Regions from separate parts of the Homo sapiens genome. Here region 1 is linked to region 2. The links are contacts of gene promoters, found by promoter capture Hi-C in blood cells and fetal thymus (Javierre and others, 2016). All regions are on one chromosome and are shown on one strand. Each heading gives the region's core, a stretch centred on a gene start or on the middle of the fragment in contact. The rest is flanking DNA. Distances are from core to core; before and after follow the strand shown. Region 1 has its middle 30 kb from the start of OAT. Region 2 holds the start of IKZF5 (IKAROS family zinc finger 5).

Region 1 (2,700 bases), core at 36-2,535, 1.4 Mb before region 2:
CTTGTGTGGAATAGCCAAGCATGGCTCAAGGCAGGGTTCGGGAGGACCACCGACAGCTCAGGCTTGCACATCCATGGGGATGCAGGGTCTGGGGGCCTTTGATCTTGGTGGCTTTCTCCTAGGCCAGTCTCTGAGACCGGCAGTGAAGGGCAAGTGGGATCCACCAGCCCCTACTCTCTCCTGCCTTCCTTTTTATCACAACATCTCTTTAATTTATGGCCCCTGAGTGCCAAGCCGTGTACCTGTGAACAAATGGAGTAATTACTCCTGGGAGAAATAGAAAAACATGGATGCAGACCATACAGAAAGCTGCCGGCTTTCAGTGGGGTGACCTGGGAGTGATCACCGGGTGAGGGTGTCCTGCCAGTGTTCTAGGAATCCTGGAATCATGGAGGGTCTCCTGCCAGTGTTTTCATGTTACTGGAGGCTCAGAGAGCGGAAGGGACTTGTCCACCGGCTGCGCTCCCTGGGACAGAAACCTGGGGAGGCCTCCTGATGATGACGGGAGGCGGTGGCGTGGGTGGTTGCTGCGAGGCTCAGAGCTTCGGTTTTGCTTTTGCCTCTGACAACCAGGATGACCTCTGGCAACTCAATGCCTCTCTGTCCTTTATCGAATGAGGGGGTTGAATTAGGACAGAACAGTCACGGGTGGTTTCACAACAGGTGTATGTTCTGAGAAATGCGTCCTTTGGCGATTTTCTCGTTATGTGAACATCATGGCGTGTACTTACACAACCTAGATGGCACAGCCTGCTACGACACAATGCTAAGTATTTGCATAGCTAAACACAGAAAAGGCACAGTAAAAATATGGTATAATCTTTTGGGACCTCCGCCATATTAGAAGGGCATGACTGCCTGGTCTCTGGAGGTGGGGGTGAGGACTGACCAGGTGAGCCTGAGCCCCCATCCAGTGGGCACCGGGCTCAGGTGGGCGCGCGACGGGTCTTGGGAACTGACAGAGGAGCCAGGGTCTGAGGCCCCCGGCAGGTTTTATATAGAGATGGCCAGAAAAGCGCCCCCACGTCCTGTGAGGTTCCCATTCCCCCGTCTTGGGTTTTAAGATCCCCTTGAGACTTAGTTTCCCCCAAAGTCAGTTTCCCGAGAAAAGGAGGCCCCATTTCAGCAGAAAGGGGCTTCGAGCTCCAGGGAGAGGACGGGGGTGTGGCGAGTTGTCCCCTCCCCTCCAAGACTCAGCGCCCACGCGCAAGTCAATAACCCCAAGTCCGGGTCCTGGGGCTTTTGGCCGGAACTGCTCGCAGCCATAGGGCCCCACGCGCGTTGGGACGGCAGGGGGCGCTGCCCGCAAAGCGTTGCTTCCCGGCCGTCCTGCGAGCCCGCGAGATGCGCGTGCGCGAGGCCGGGGCTCGGGAGCTGGGGCGGGGCCGTGGGCGGGGCCAGGAGCCGCGCTGGGGACCGTGCCCTCCTCCGCCGAGGCCTGTAGGGCGCTCGCTCTTCGCTGGGCCGAGTCCCCCCGCGCGCTGCAGAGCAATACAGTTCTGTAAAAGTTTATTATTCTGACGTTGGAATATGCTCCTTGGAGACAATTCAGAACTTGCAGAAACCAGAGCCCCGCGGCCCCTCCCTGCGTAGACTGCGGGCGGCTGTCCCGGGCGTGGGCTGCGGCCCCGCGGGCCCATGCGTGTTCTGGGGACTCTGGGGCGCTGGTTCAGTCCCGCGTGTGTGGGAGTCACGTTCACCTCCTCAGTGCCAGGTGCTGTCCGCGCACCCGTCGGAGCGCCTCGGTTCACCGTGCAGAGGTGTGGGCTCCGGGGCAGGGAAGGGTCCACCCCACCTCCCGCGCTGCAGCGAGCTTGACAGGTGGTGATCCTGGACAGGCGCATCCGTTGGGCCGGGGGCAGGGGCGCTCTGACCCTGTGGGCAGGGCCTCCCGGGACTCTGCCCGGAGCTCCTGGCTGGGCTGTGCCCGGAGGGATCTGAGTGGTGGTCCTTGGGCCCTTGCGGGCCTCAGTTTTTGCCACTGTGCAATGGCCTTACTCATACCTGCCCTGGTGATTGGGGGACCGAAGTTGTGCAGGGGGTGGGAGGATGCGGGGCCTGGTCTCTGCCTGGCTGGGGCCCACCTTGATCCGTGTGGCCCTGCTGAGCCCTGTCCACTGGTCACTGAGATAGTGACGGTCCTGGGCTGGGCAGGAGTGGCAGGCCCTGGGTGTGTGGATGCCATAGGAGGAGAAAGAGCTTTTCCTCACCGTCCTAGGTTCCTGCCTGGGACTCATATAACAAGAGAATAACATACACATTTATTTAATATAATTTTTACCGGATGCAGGAGCCTTCATAAGGAAATGAAGACCCAAAGAAATGTGTAAACCTGTGTGTGTGTGTGTGTGTGTGTGTTTTTGAGACAGAGTTTCACTCTTGTTGCCCAGGCTGGAGTGCAATGGCAGGATCTTGGCTCACTGCAGCCTCCACCTCCTGGGTTCAAGCGTTTCTCCTGTCTCAGCCTCCCAGGTAGCTGGGATTACAGGCGCATGCCACCAGGCCCGGCCAATTTTTGTATTTTTAGTAGAGATGGGGTTTCATCATATTGGTCAGGCTGGTCTCGAACTCCTGACCTCAGGTGATCCGCCCACCTCGGCCTCCCAAAGTGCTGGGATTACAGGCGTGAGCCACCACACCCAGCCAAACCTGTGTTTTTTATGCTTGGTTTGATAAAAAAAGTGGATAGTCCTAGAAAAG
Region 2 (2,700 bases), core at 17-2,516:
TTGCACTTCAGGCCTGTAAAACAGTCAAATAACATTAATTATCTCTAATAAGAAAAAGGGTCAGAGTTCTGCCTCTGGGCATAAGACTGAAGCAGCAGTTGGAAAGCCTAACTCATTAAAGCAAATGCAAAGGAAACATTAAAAGCACACGTAAGCAGTGGGAAAATTCCCAGTGAAGTGTACTGACAAATACAAGTGTATCCAAATGTGTATGTTCTGAAAAGCATGCTATATAATAGGTCCAAGGGGTGAAGAGCATAGGATGTTAACACAGGGGCTGTTAACAGTTTGTGTGGGTGCACAGATAAGAATTAAGCACAACAAGAGGCTGGTTTCAGCTTAAGTTCATGGAAGAGGGACCGGCACCGGCTCCGGCTCCCCTGGGCGGCGGTGAGTCTATCCACGGAAGATACCCAGGCTCCAGACATGAGATAAGGGGCAGAGGGAACTCTGTCCCTGGCCGGGAAGCCCGAACAACTCCGAAGTCCCTTACTACCTTTGAGCGGGGCCGCGGAAGGAAGGACAGGGAGACACCTGCTCAGAATGAGACTGGGCCTATATTTTAACTATCTTTTTTGGGGGAGGGGGTGTGAAATGTAATCACTCGGGAAAGGTGCGTTAGGGCATCAGGGAGGTGACATCTGTGCAAAATGCATCCAGAGATCCAGAGATCCAGACTCGGTGGCTCTCAGGACGCAACGGCCTGCAAAGGACATCTTGCGGACGCGACCCTCCGACTCCACTCAAGGTACTTGCTCCGCCAAAGCAGCTTCTAGACAGCCCCGACCCCCTTGCCACCAGCTGCCTCCACCAGAGGCCTGAAGGGGGTCGGGGTCATAGACTGCCCGCGGGTAAAGAGTCTGGGGACCCAGGACGTGGAGCGGGGCTCAGGCCGGCGCCCCGAGGCCCGTTAGAAGGCTCTGCCAGCTGCGATTCCAGGGGCCAAGGTCGCCCTGGGCCCCCAGGACGCCAGCCTCGAACGCACTCACCAGCCTGCTGCCGCGCAGCAACCGCACTGCCAGGCCCTCCATCCTCGCCGCAGGCCTCTCCGCTCTGCGCCTCTGGGTCTCTAGCCAGCCCCTGGGAGTTACCCGAGCAAGGCCCCGCCCACTCAGTACCCGCCCCGCACACACCCCCCCTTAATCCCTGCCCCCTGCTGCCTACGGAACCCCAAGAGAGACAAACAGGCCCCTCCTCGCTTTCGCCCTCCATCCTGCTCACGCGAGACTTGAGCAAGGCAGGGGGGCGGGAAGGGAGTCGGAGACACAACAAAGATGGCGGCGGCGACTGTGACGGTGACGAAGACGGCGGCGGCGGCGACGGCATTTAACAAGGCGGTGTGGTTTACTCCATGCAGTTGTCAGGAGGTAAGTAGCAGGCTGCCGGCTCGGACGGCGGCGACGCGGCAGGACAGGGCGGATAAGAAGGAGCGGCCGGAGACTGGAGCTGGGTTCGTGGCGGGCCGGCTGATCCGGACGGAGACTCAGTTCAGTGGAGGGTCGGGCGTGGTCGGTAGGCGGGCAGGTGATGGCCCGGGACCTCTTTAGCCGGAGGGCAGTGGACTGCGGCGCCTATGGCCGCGAGAACCCCGAGGGAGCGGGGTCTCCTGCTGTCATTGCCTTCGAGCAGGAGCTCGGAGGCTCCGGGGCGGGGACTGTTGCTTGGCTCTGACAGGTGGTTCTGCGGGAGGCGTCCCGAGGTTTGCGTCTTCACGGGGTCCCAGGGGCTGGGAGTCAGCCGGGCGCGGGTCTCCTAGGTGTTTCGAATCCTGGCGAGGATGTCGCTCCGAATCTTGGTGAGGCTGCTGCCCCGACGCCGGTCCCAGGCTGATTGTTGGGAGAAGGACGTTTAAAGCCTTCGTATTTTATCTAATGATCCTGCCCGGATCCGTCTCTACTGCATGGGCACCCTTATTTTAGGAACATGTGAGATTTGAGAAAGACATTGTAGCAAATAACTATTCAGGTTCATTCGGGGTTTAGATCTTTGGATAAACTGTGTGGAGCGCGAGTAGCCAAGCCTAGCATGCTCGATGACTGGATCTGAAGCTAAACAAGTTCTAGCAAACACTAACCACGTGGCCTGCTTAGAGTCCCCTTGATGTGCTGGTCAGAACCCGAAAGACGTGTGACAAGCGGAAGAAGACATAAAGGCGTCTTAAATTGTGTGATCTGAGGAAATTCAGTTTTGAAAGAACAGAATGTATTTAAAACAACTTTTTTTTAAACGTAGGAACTAACAATTTTAAAAATTCAATTTAATTTTGATTTATGTCGTGTTGTCACAACAGCTAAAGGTTATTATTATTGATGAGAGTTCGTTACAGTGAATTGAAATGTCTGGTGTTATTTTCCCCTAGCGGTCCAGGATGTTTCCCAGAAAACCGTAGCTGTTTTGTGTTATGATAGGATAAGAAGGATGGGATTCAGATGTGCCCTTATCGGGTGTGCATGTTTTTTTTGTTTTTGTATTTAAAGCCCTTTCCCATTTCCCTACTTAGGACTATGCGTTGTTTTTATGCAACTACAGCTGTTCAGCAGTACTAAGCTTGACCGTTTTGGAAGTGTGCTGTGACTAAATGAAGTTAATCTTAATTTCTTTAAACTGAAGTTTAACTTAAATTTAGACATTAAAAATCTTGCCAAAAACTAATCCACCAGTGAGAAAACGGTAGTCACACCAGTTATTCTTTGGTGATCC

Evidence for each region. Contacts are between HindIII fragments. The CHiCAGO score rates a contact against its expected background, and 5 or more counts as called.
Region 1: a contact is called between a fragment that was not itself captured here and the fragment with the promoter of IKZF5 in region 2, in 3 of 17 cell types (fetal thymus, activated CD4 T cells and naive CD4 T cells). The highest score is 8.2, in fetal thymus.

The regions. Positions count from the first base shown.
Region 1 is chr10:124,388,004-124,390,703 of GRCh38, reverse strand. No RefSeq gene overlaps it. Among named protein-coding and RNA genes, the nearest start is that of OAT, 30 kb to the left of the region's middle. RefSeq lists a silencer at 1,198-1,487. The HindIII fragment of the contact is 3,581 bases long and covers 1-2,700 here.
Region 2 is chr10:123,007,361-123,010,060 of GRCh38, reverse strand. IKZF5 (IKAROS family zinc finger 5) reads left to right here and starts at 1,266. Exons shown (of 5, transcript NM_001372123.1): 1 at 1,266-1,367. ACADSB (acyl-CoA dehydrogenase short/branched chain) reads right to left here and starts at 1,055. Exons shown (of 11, transcript NM_001609.4): 1 at 990-1,055. The coding sequence starts at 1,031. RefSeq lists enhancers at 1,150-1,479, 1,760-1,989. The HindIII fragment of the contact is 4,856 bases long and covers 1-2,549 here.